Regions from separate parts of the Homo sapiens genome. Here region 1 is linked to region 2. The links are contacts of gene promoters, found by promoter capture Hi-C in human tissues and cell types (Jung and others, 2019). All regions are on one chromosome and are shown on one strand. Each heading gives the region's core, a stretch centred on a gene start or on the middle of the fragment in contact. The rest is flanking DNA. Distances are from core to core; before and after follow the strand shown. Region 1 overlaps TNRC6C (trinucleotide repeat containing adaptor 6C). Region 2 holds the start of BIRC5 (baculoviral IAP repeat containing 5).

Region 1 (3,584 bases), core at 124-2,623, 140 kb after region 2:
TTTTCTTTTGTGATCTCTGTCAATATACTCTATACACTAATGAAATTCACGTTTAATTATAAATTAAAAGTAAACATAAAACTGTATAAACCAATGAAAATTAAAAATCACACAGCATTTTCCGGCTGGGCGTAGTGACTCATGCCTGTAATCCCAGCACTTTGGGAGGCCGAGGCGGGCAGATCGCTTGAGCCCAGGTGTTCGAGACCAGCCTGGCCAACACAGTGAAGCCTCGTCTCTACCAAAAATACAAAAATTAGCCGAGCATGGTGGCTCACGCCTGTAGTCCCAGCTCTACTCGGGAGGCCGAGACAGGAGGACTGCTTGATCACACCACTGCACTGCAGCCTAGGTGCCAGAGCAAGACCCTGTCTCCAAAAAAAAAAAGCATTTTCTATTCTAGGAAAAGGCTCTCACACCCTTTTTGATAGAAATTGTGTGGGTCTTTGCTGTAGTTCAAAGCAATGATCTCTAACCCAAACTACCCAGGTAAAAGGGAGATTTAAGAGTTAGATGATGTCAATATCTCATTCCTCAAACAATCTTGGTGTCTTCTGACACACATAACAAACATGGAGAGGAAACAATGAGGGCATTTCATTTTGGGAAGCATGGTGGGTAGCAGTAAACTACGACGCCAGTTACCGGGAAGCCCATGTCTGTGAGTTGTTTGATCAGCCGGCTCATGATCCAGGCCTCATCCTGCTTGCCAGACGTCTTCATGCCCTTGAACAAAGTGTGGGAAAGGGGGAAGTCCATGAGCTACATTTTAATGCATTTCTACCAGAAATGGGAGACAGCCTAAATTCAGGGTCATTTAAAAGTCACAGGATCTTTTTGTATTAACATTGAATAATGCTGTATTCCAGAAACTCCCTAACAGTATTTCGTGGCTACTGCTACGGAAAGCATCAAGGTACATTTGCAGGTTGGTATATATGTGCAATTTATGAACTTAAAGCAAGATAATTATTTCTCTTTCCCAGATAATTAATTTAGTTTATCACAAATATAGACTACTTTTACTATCCAATAATCCTAAGCGCTCCCTTGAACACAGCCCTATGTGAAGTTTACTAAAAATTACACTTTTTGCCTTTTCTAAGCTTTATTCTGAAAAATGATAAAATGAGGGGGTTTATTCCAATGAGTAAAGAGGCAGCAAGAAGAAAGGATGAAACAACCTGTTAATTTTATTAACTATTTGTTACTTATAGCTCATAGGGTAGAGAAAAGGAATAAGGAGGAAAATGTCAGTGAAGGAGAGGATGAGGAAAAAGGTCAGCTACAGAAAGAGCAGTGGGGGTGGGGGAGGGCTCGGCACCACAGAAGAGCCAGGAGGCTTCTCAATAACTTCCCTCTGAGCCTATAAATGCAAAGGTTCTAATGATGCATTATTACAATATGAAAAAAATTCCCTTCCAAAAATATTCTTCATAGTGTTTTTCACAATTGAGCCTGCCACAGCTATATCATGGAGCATATGGAGCTCTATAAACAGGCTTTCTTTCCTCAAGGAACTAGCTTATTTTGGGGCTATTTCAATCATTACTATGCTGCCAGAGCCAGATTAGTCAAGATTTTAATTTACCAATTTGCTATTTTTGGTCCCATCATTAACTGGATTATTTGCCAGCCCAACTGTAAAAAGGATTCTTTTTGATGTCTGTAATCACTTCTACTCCTCATGAGCGGAGAGCTCTGATTTTAGTTTCTGGTTTCTGCTGATTATTAACTGAATGCTTTTATAAACTATATTTTTTTGAACATGAATACATTCACACGATTCAAAAGTATAAACAAGGTATAAAGAAAGTTTTCATCTCATGCCACCCCATTTGCTTAGTTCCTGTTCTCTCGAAGAGGCACTACTCATAGCAGTTTCTTATTTGCCCTTCCAGAGAATTTAGAACATTCTGTAGAAGCTGATACACTACGTGTGCATGCATGCATACACACACTCACATACACACACACACGTTTTCTTCCTCCTACCCCACAAAATAGGGTGTGTGCTGTACATGTTTTTCTGCACCTTGCTTTTAATTTAACAATGTACTTTAGTGATCTTTTCATATCAATACATAGATAGAATTTCCTTTTAGTTCTGTATAATGTAGAAGTGACATAATTAACTTGTTACTCCATCAATGTACACATAAATTATTGTTATCTTTTTACTACAAAAATGCTGCAATACAAAACTGTATAAATGCCACAAAGTGAGACTCTGTCTCTACAGAAAAAATAAAAAATAAAATTAGTTGGGCAGAGTGGCATGCACCTGTAGACCCAGCTACTCAGGAGGCTGAGGCAGGAGGACAATTCGAGCCCAGGAGTTCAAGGTTGTACTCCAGCCCCTAAGGTGACACAGCAAGACTCTGTCTCTAAAAAAATTTTTTTAAATAAAAAAATCAAAACGCTGGCTTTCTGTGGGTCTGAGAGATGAAAAATGGCAGGTGTCTCTGAGTGCTGTCTGGAACTGCACTGCCTTCCTGTGAGTCCGTGTCTAGGAGCCACTGGTGCTCCTTCTCTGTGGACCAGCTACTCTTCACATTCTGTGCTCCTTTTTCTACTGGGTTTCTGGCTGATTTTTTTTTTAAATCAGTTTCTAGGACTTTATGTATCAGGGGATTGGCCCTCTCTATGATATGAGTTATAAACATATTTTTCCAGTTTGCTATTTTTCTTTTGACTTTGATTATGGTATTTTCTGTCATGTACAGTTTTTACATTTATCTATTGACACAAAAAAATTTTATTTTATGGCTTTTAGATTTTGGTCATAGTTAGGCCTCTCTGAGTCCAAAATTGTTTTTAATGTTCTTTCATGTTTTCATATTTTTAATATTTAAGTTTGTGACCTACTTGAAATTCAGTCATGCTGAATGTGGACTGAATTGGGCAGTCATCTAGAAAAAAATGAGATACACGTCTCATGTAGCTCATGTATATATGAGATGTGTATCTCAGTGTTTTCTAGATGACCGCACATTTGTGTCTTTTTTTTTGAGAGGGAGTCTCGCTCTGTCGCCCAGGCTGGAGTGCAGTGAGGCGATCTTGGCTCACTGCAACTGCAACCTCCGCCTCCCAGGTTTAAGCAATTCTCTTGCCTCAGCCTCCCGAGTAGCTGGGATTACAGGCACCCACCACCACGCCCAGCTAGTTTTTGTATTTTTAGTAGAGATGGGGTTTCACCATGTTGGCCAGGCTGGACTTGAACTCCTGACCTCAAGTGATCCACCCACTTTGGCCTCCCAAAGTGCCGGGATTACAGGTGTGAGCCACTGTGCCCTGCCTGCCCATCTGTTTTAAGACTTCTTAACCATCTGTCTCAAACTTTTTGGTCTCAGGACCCTATAATACTCTCTTAGAGACTGAAGATCCCAAAGAACTTCTGTTGACATGAGTTGTGTCTATTGCTATTTACTGTATTAGAAATTAAAACTGAGAAAATTTAAAAATATAATTTTGCTTAAAAATAATAGTCACTACACATTAACCTAACATTTTAAAATAAAAAGTAATTAATTTTTCATGAGAAGGGTGGCACTGTTTTGCCTTTTGGCAAATCTCTATGTCTG
Region 2 (3,624 bases), core at 194-2,693:
CATAGCAAACATACTAAGAAAAAAAACAGCTACTCTCTTCTGGCCAAAAAGAAAAACAACTGGGGTGATTCTCCAGGGGAAAAAAATTAAAGCTGTGGAAGCAACTGAATCCGACAGAAAAAAAGGTGAGAAAAGAATATGGCATTACAGTGTGGAAAGACAGATACCATCCGAGTACAGAATTTCATTGTCATTAACTAGGCATCTTGAAGAAAAAAATCCAGAACAACACTGAAGTATATGCTTTCTTTCTTTTTTTTTTTTCAATTTTTTATTTTTATGACGGAGTCTCGCTCTGTCGCCGAGGCTGGAGTGCATTGGCACAATCTCGGCTCACTGCAACCTCCGCCTCCCAGGTTCAAGCGATTCTCCTGCCTTAGCCTCCCGAGTAGCTGGGATTACGGGCGTGCGCTACCATGCCCGGCTAATTTTTGTATTTTTAGTAGAGACGGGGTTTCGCCAAGTTGGCCAGGCAGGTCTTGAACTCCTGACCTCAGGTGATCCGCCCGCCTCAGCCTCCGAAAGTGTGAAGTGCACACTTTCAAAGGGTAATTTTTGTGCTGTGTAGGTTATATTTCAATTAAACTGTTTTTTAAAAAATCTCAAAAAAAGCACTTGGACGTTCCTGGGAGTTCACAACAACAGGGTCTGCTGATGTATTCTGTTGAACATGAAAGGCATCAGGCATCTTACGTCCACCCCAAGGCATTTTGGTCAAATGAGATTTAATTAGGTTGTAAGCATCACCAAGGCACCAGCATATAGAGAGGTATCCGTTCACAACAGCTGTTTAAGAAGCAATGAGGGTGGAAAGCAACCCTCCCATACTAAGTGTCTTTGCAACTCAAATCTTTTGACAACTCAGTTCAAAACAAAGCCCATCGAGGCTGGCCAGAGAAGACTTACATGGGGTCGTCATCTGGCTCCCAGCCTTCCAGCTCCTTGAAGCAGAAGAAACACTGGGCCAAGTCTGGCTCGTTCTCAGTGGGGCAGTGGATGAAGCCAGCCTCGGCCATCTGCAAGGGACAGCACAGCTCGTGAGTGGACGTGGCAGCCCGGAACCCCGAGGCCCAGCCACAAAGGCCTCGATGGGGACAAAGCAGGGAGGGGAGGCCGGCCTGGACCCAAGGGGCCCAGCCACAGTGGCCTCGCTGGGGACAGGACGGGGAGGGGAGGGCGGCTTGTACCCCCGAGGCCCAGTCACAGTGGCCTCGCTAGGGACAGGGCAAGGCGGGCGTGGGGGACCCCAGGAGGCCGGGCAGTCTCACCCGCTCCGGGGTGCAGGCGCAGCCCTCCAAGAAGGGCCAGTTCTTGAATGTAGAGATGCGGTGGTCCTTGAGAAAGGGCTGCCAGGCAGGGGGCAACGTCGGGGCACCCATGCCGCCGCCGCCACCTCTGCCAACGGGTCCCGCGATTCAAATCTGGCGGTTAATGGCGCGCCGCGGGGCATGTCGGGAGCGCACGCCCTCTTAGGCGGTCCACCCCCCGCGGCCTTCTGGGAGTAGAGGCGGGGCGGCGCGGGGTGTGCCGGGAGTTGTAGTCCTCCCGCCGCGTGGCTCTGCCCGTGGTCGCGGTGCACCCAGCGACGCCGCGCCAGCTCGTCCCTGCCCACACCTAGCGCCCCCTCGACTGCTTTCAAAGAACGCGTGCAGGCCGGGTGCAGTGGCTCACGCCTGTAATCCCAACACTTTGAGAGGCCTAGGCAGGAGCATCACTTGAGTCCTGGAGTTCAAGACCAGCCTGGCCATCACGGTGAAACCTTGTCTCTACTAAAAATACAAAAATTAGCTGGGCGTGGTGGTGCATGCCTGTAATCCCAACTACTCGGGAGGCTGAGGCAGGAGAATCGCTTGAACCCGGGAGGCAGAGGGTGCAGTGAGCTGAGATTGTGCCATTGCACTCCAGCCTAGGCAACAAGAGCAAAACTCAGTCTAAAAAAAAAAAAAAAGTCAGACAGGAGAGCTTTACAGGGTGCCACCTCTGCAAAAAGCATCTACTCCAGACGGGCATGAAGGACAAATGAACAGGGGAGGGATGGAGTGCAGCAGACATCGCTGTCCCGGCGAGTACATCGTTGACTGCACGACCTGGGTTTCCAGGAGGGCCACCTTCTGGAGTCAGGGGCCAGGGACTGGGCCACTACCGTGATAAGAAGACAAGGGAGCTGGGGAAAGCCCAGTGGAGGGTGGGGGCCTGTGCTCAGGGCAAACTCCTCCTTTCCCTTCGCAAAGCAGGGCGTCCCACCAACAGTAAGTCCTGCAGCCTATTAAAAAAAAAATCAGTGTGTCCTCTGCTTTGGAACAGGGTGTTCTGGAGTCACTTCTGGAGCTGGGCATCACATCCACTCACTTCTCTGGTTCTATGGCCAGAGATAAGAGGCCTGGCCTTATTAGCCCTCCAGCCCCACGCAGGCCTGGTGCCTCCACTGTCTTTTTCATTTTGGGGTTTATTTATTTATTTATTTATTTTTGCAACCTCTCCCCACCCCTCCCACCCCGCCCCCATTCTTTAATACAGTAACTTTTTATTTTGATGTTTATTTATTTATTTGAAACTGAGTCTCGCTCTATCGCCCAGGCTGGAGTGCAGTGGCATGATCTCAGCTCACTGCAACCTCCTCCCCGCCACGGGTTCAAGCGATTCTCCTGCCTCAGCCTCCCGAGTAGCTGAGATTAAAGGCATGCACCACCACACCAGGCTAATTTTTGTATTTTTAGTAGAGATGGGGTTTCACCATGTTTGCCAGGCTGGTCTCAAACTCCTGACCTCAAGTGATCTGCCTGCCTCGGCCTCCCAAAGTGCTGGGATTACAGATGTGAGCCACTGCGCCCGGCCCGATGTCAATTTAAATAAAAGATAATTGCAAGAATAGTACAAAGAATACTCATATACCCTTCACCCAGATTTTCTGTTTATGTTTTGCCTGTTTCCTTTAACATTCACTCTCTGCTTCTTCCTCCCTTTCTCTCCTCCTCTCCCTCTCTTACCCCTTCCCTCTCTCTACTCCCCGCTCTCTCTCTGTCTCCTGTTTTCCTTTCTCTCTCCCTCTCCCCAACCTACTTTCTCTCCCCTAGTCTCTCTCCCCTCATATATGTGAACACACACACATCCCTGTATGTGTATATATCACATGCATGTATATGTATGTATATGGGTGGTTTACCTGAACCGTTTGTAAGTTGAAGGCATTACCATACTACCCCGAAATACTTCATTCTCTTACACAACCACAACACAATCATCAAAATCAGGAAACTTAACTTCGCTGCAGTTATCAAATCCAGTTGACTTTGGCAGGTCGCCCCTGGGTCCTGCTGATTGGCTCGCTAACCGGGCCCTGGCACCACCATGGCCTCTGCTGGGGTGGCCCCCAGGCACAGACCAAGGACGCACCACCTCCACTGGCAACCGCAGCAGTTGCCTGCCCTCAGGAGGGAGGAAAGGAACAACTCCTTTTCACTTTTTTTTTTTTTTTTTGAGACAGAGTCTTGCTCTGTCGCCAGGCTGGAGTGCAGTGCAGTGGCACAATCTTGGCTCACTGCAACCTCCATCTCCTGGGTTCCAGCAATTCTCTGCCTCAGCCCCCCCAGTAGCTGGGATTACATGCGCCCGCCACCATGCCCG

Evidence for each region. Contacts are between HindIII fragments. The study calls those that stand out against the background at their distance.
Region 1: a fragment that was not itself captured here is called in contact with the fragment with the promoter of BIRC5 in region 2 in 1 of the 25 tissues and cell types used here (spleen).

What each region holds. Positions count from the first base shown.
Region 1 is chr17:78,068,227-78,071,810 of GRCh38, reverse strand. It overlaps TNRC6C (trinucleotide repeat containing adaptor 6C), which reads right to left. Exons shown (of 23, transcript NM_001142640.2): 8 at 646-726. Among named protein-coding and RNA genes, the nearest start is that of TMC6, 59 kb to the left of the region's middle. The HindIII fragment of the contact is 3,903 bases long and covers 1-3,324 here.
Region 2 is chr17:78,212,072-78,215,695 of GRCh38, reverse strand. BIRC5 (baculoviral IAP repeat containing 5) reads right to left here and starts at 1,443. Exons shown (of 4, transcript NM_001168.3): 1 at 1,269-1,443; 2 at 907-1,016. The coding sequence starts at 1,379. RefSeq lists an enhancer at 797-1,698 and a silencer at 3,595-3,624. The HindIII fragment of the contact is 20,243 bases long and covers 1-3,624 here.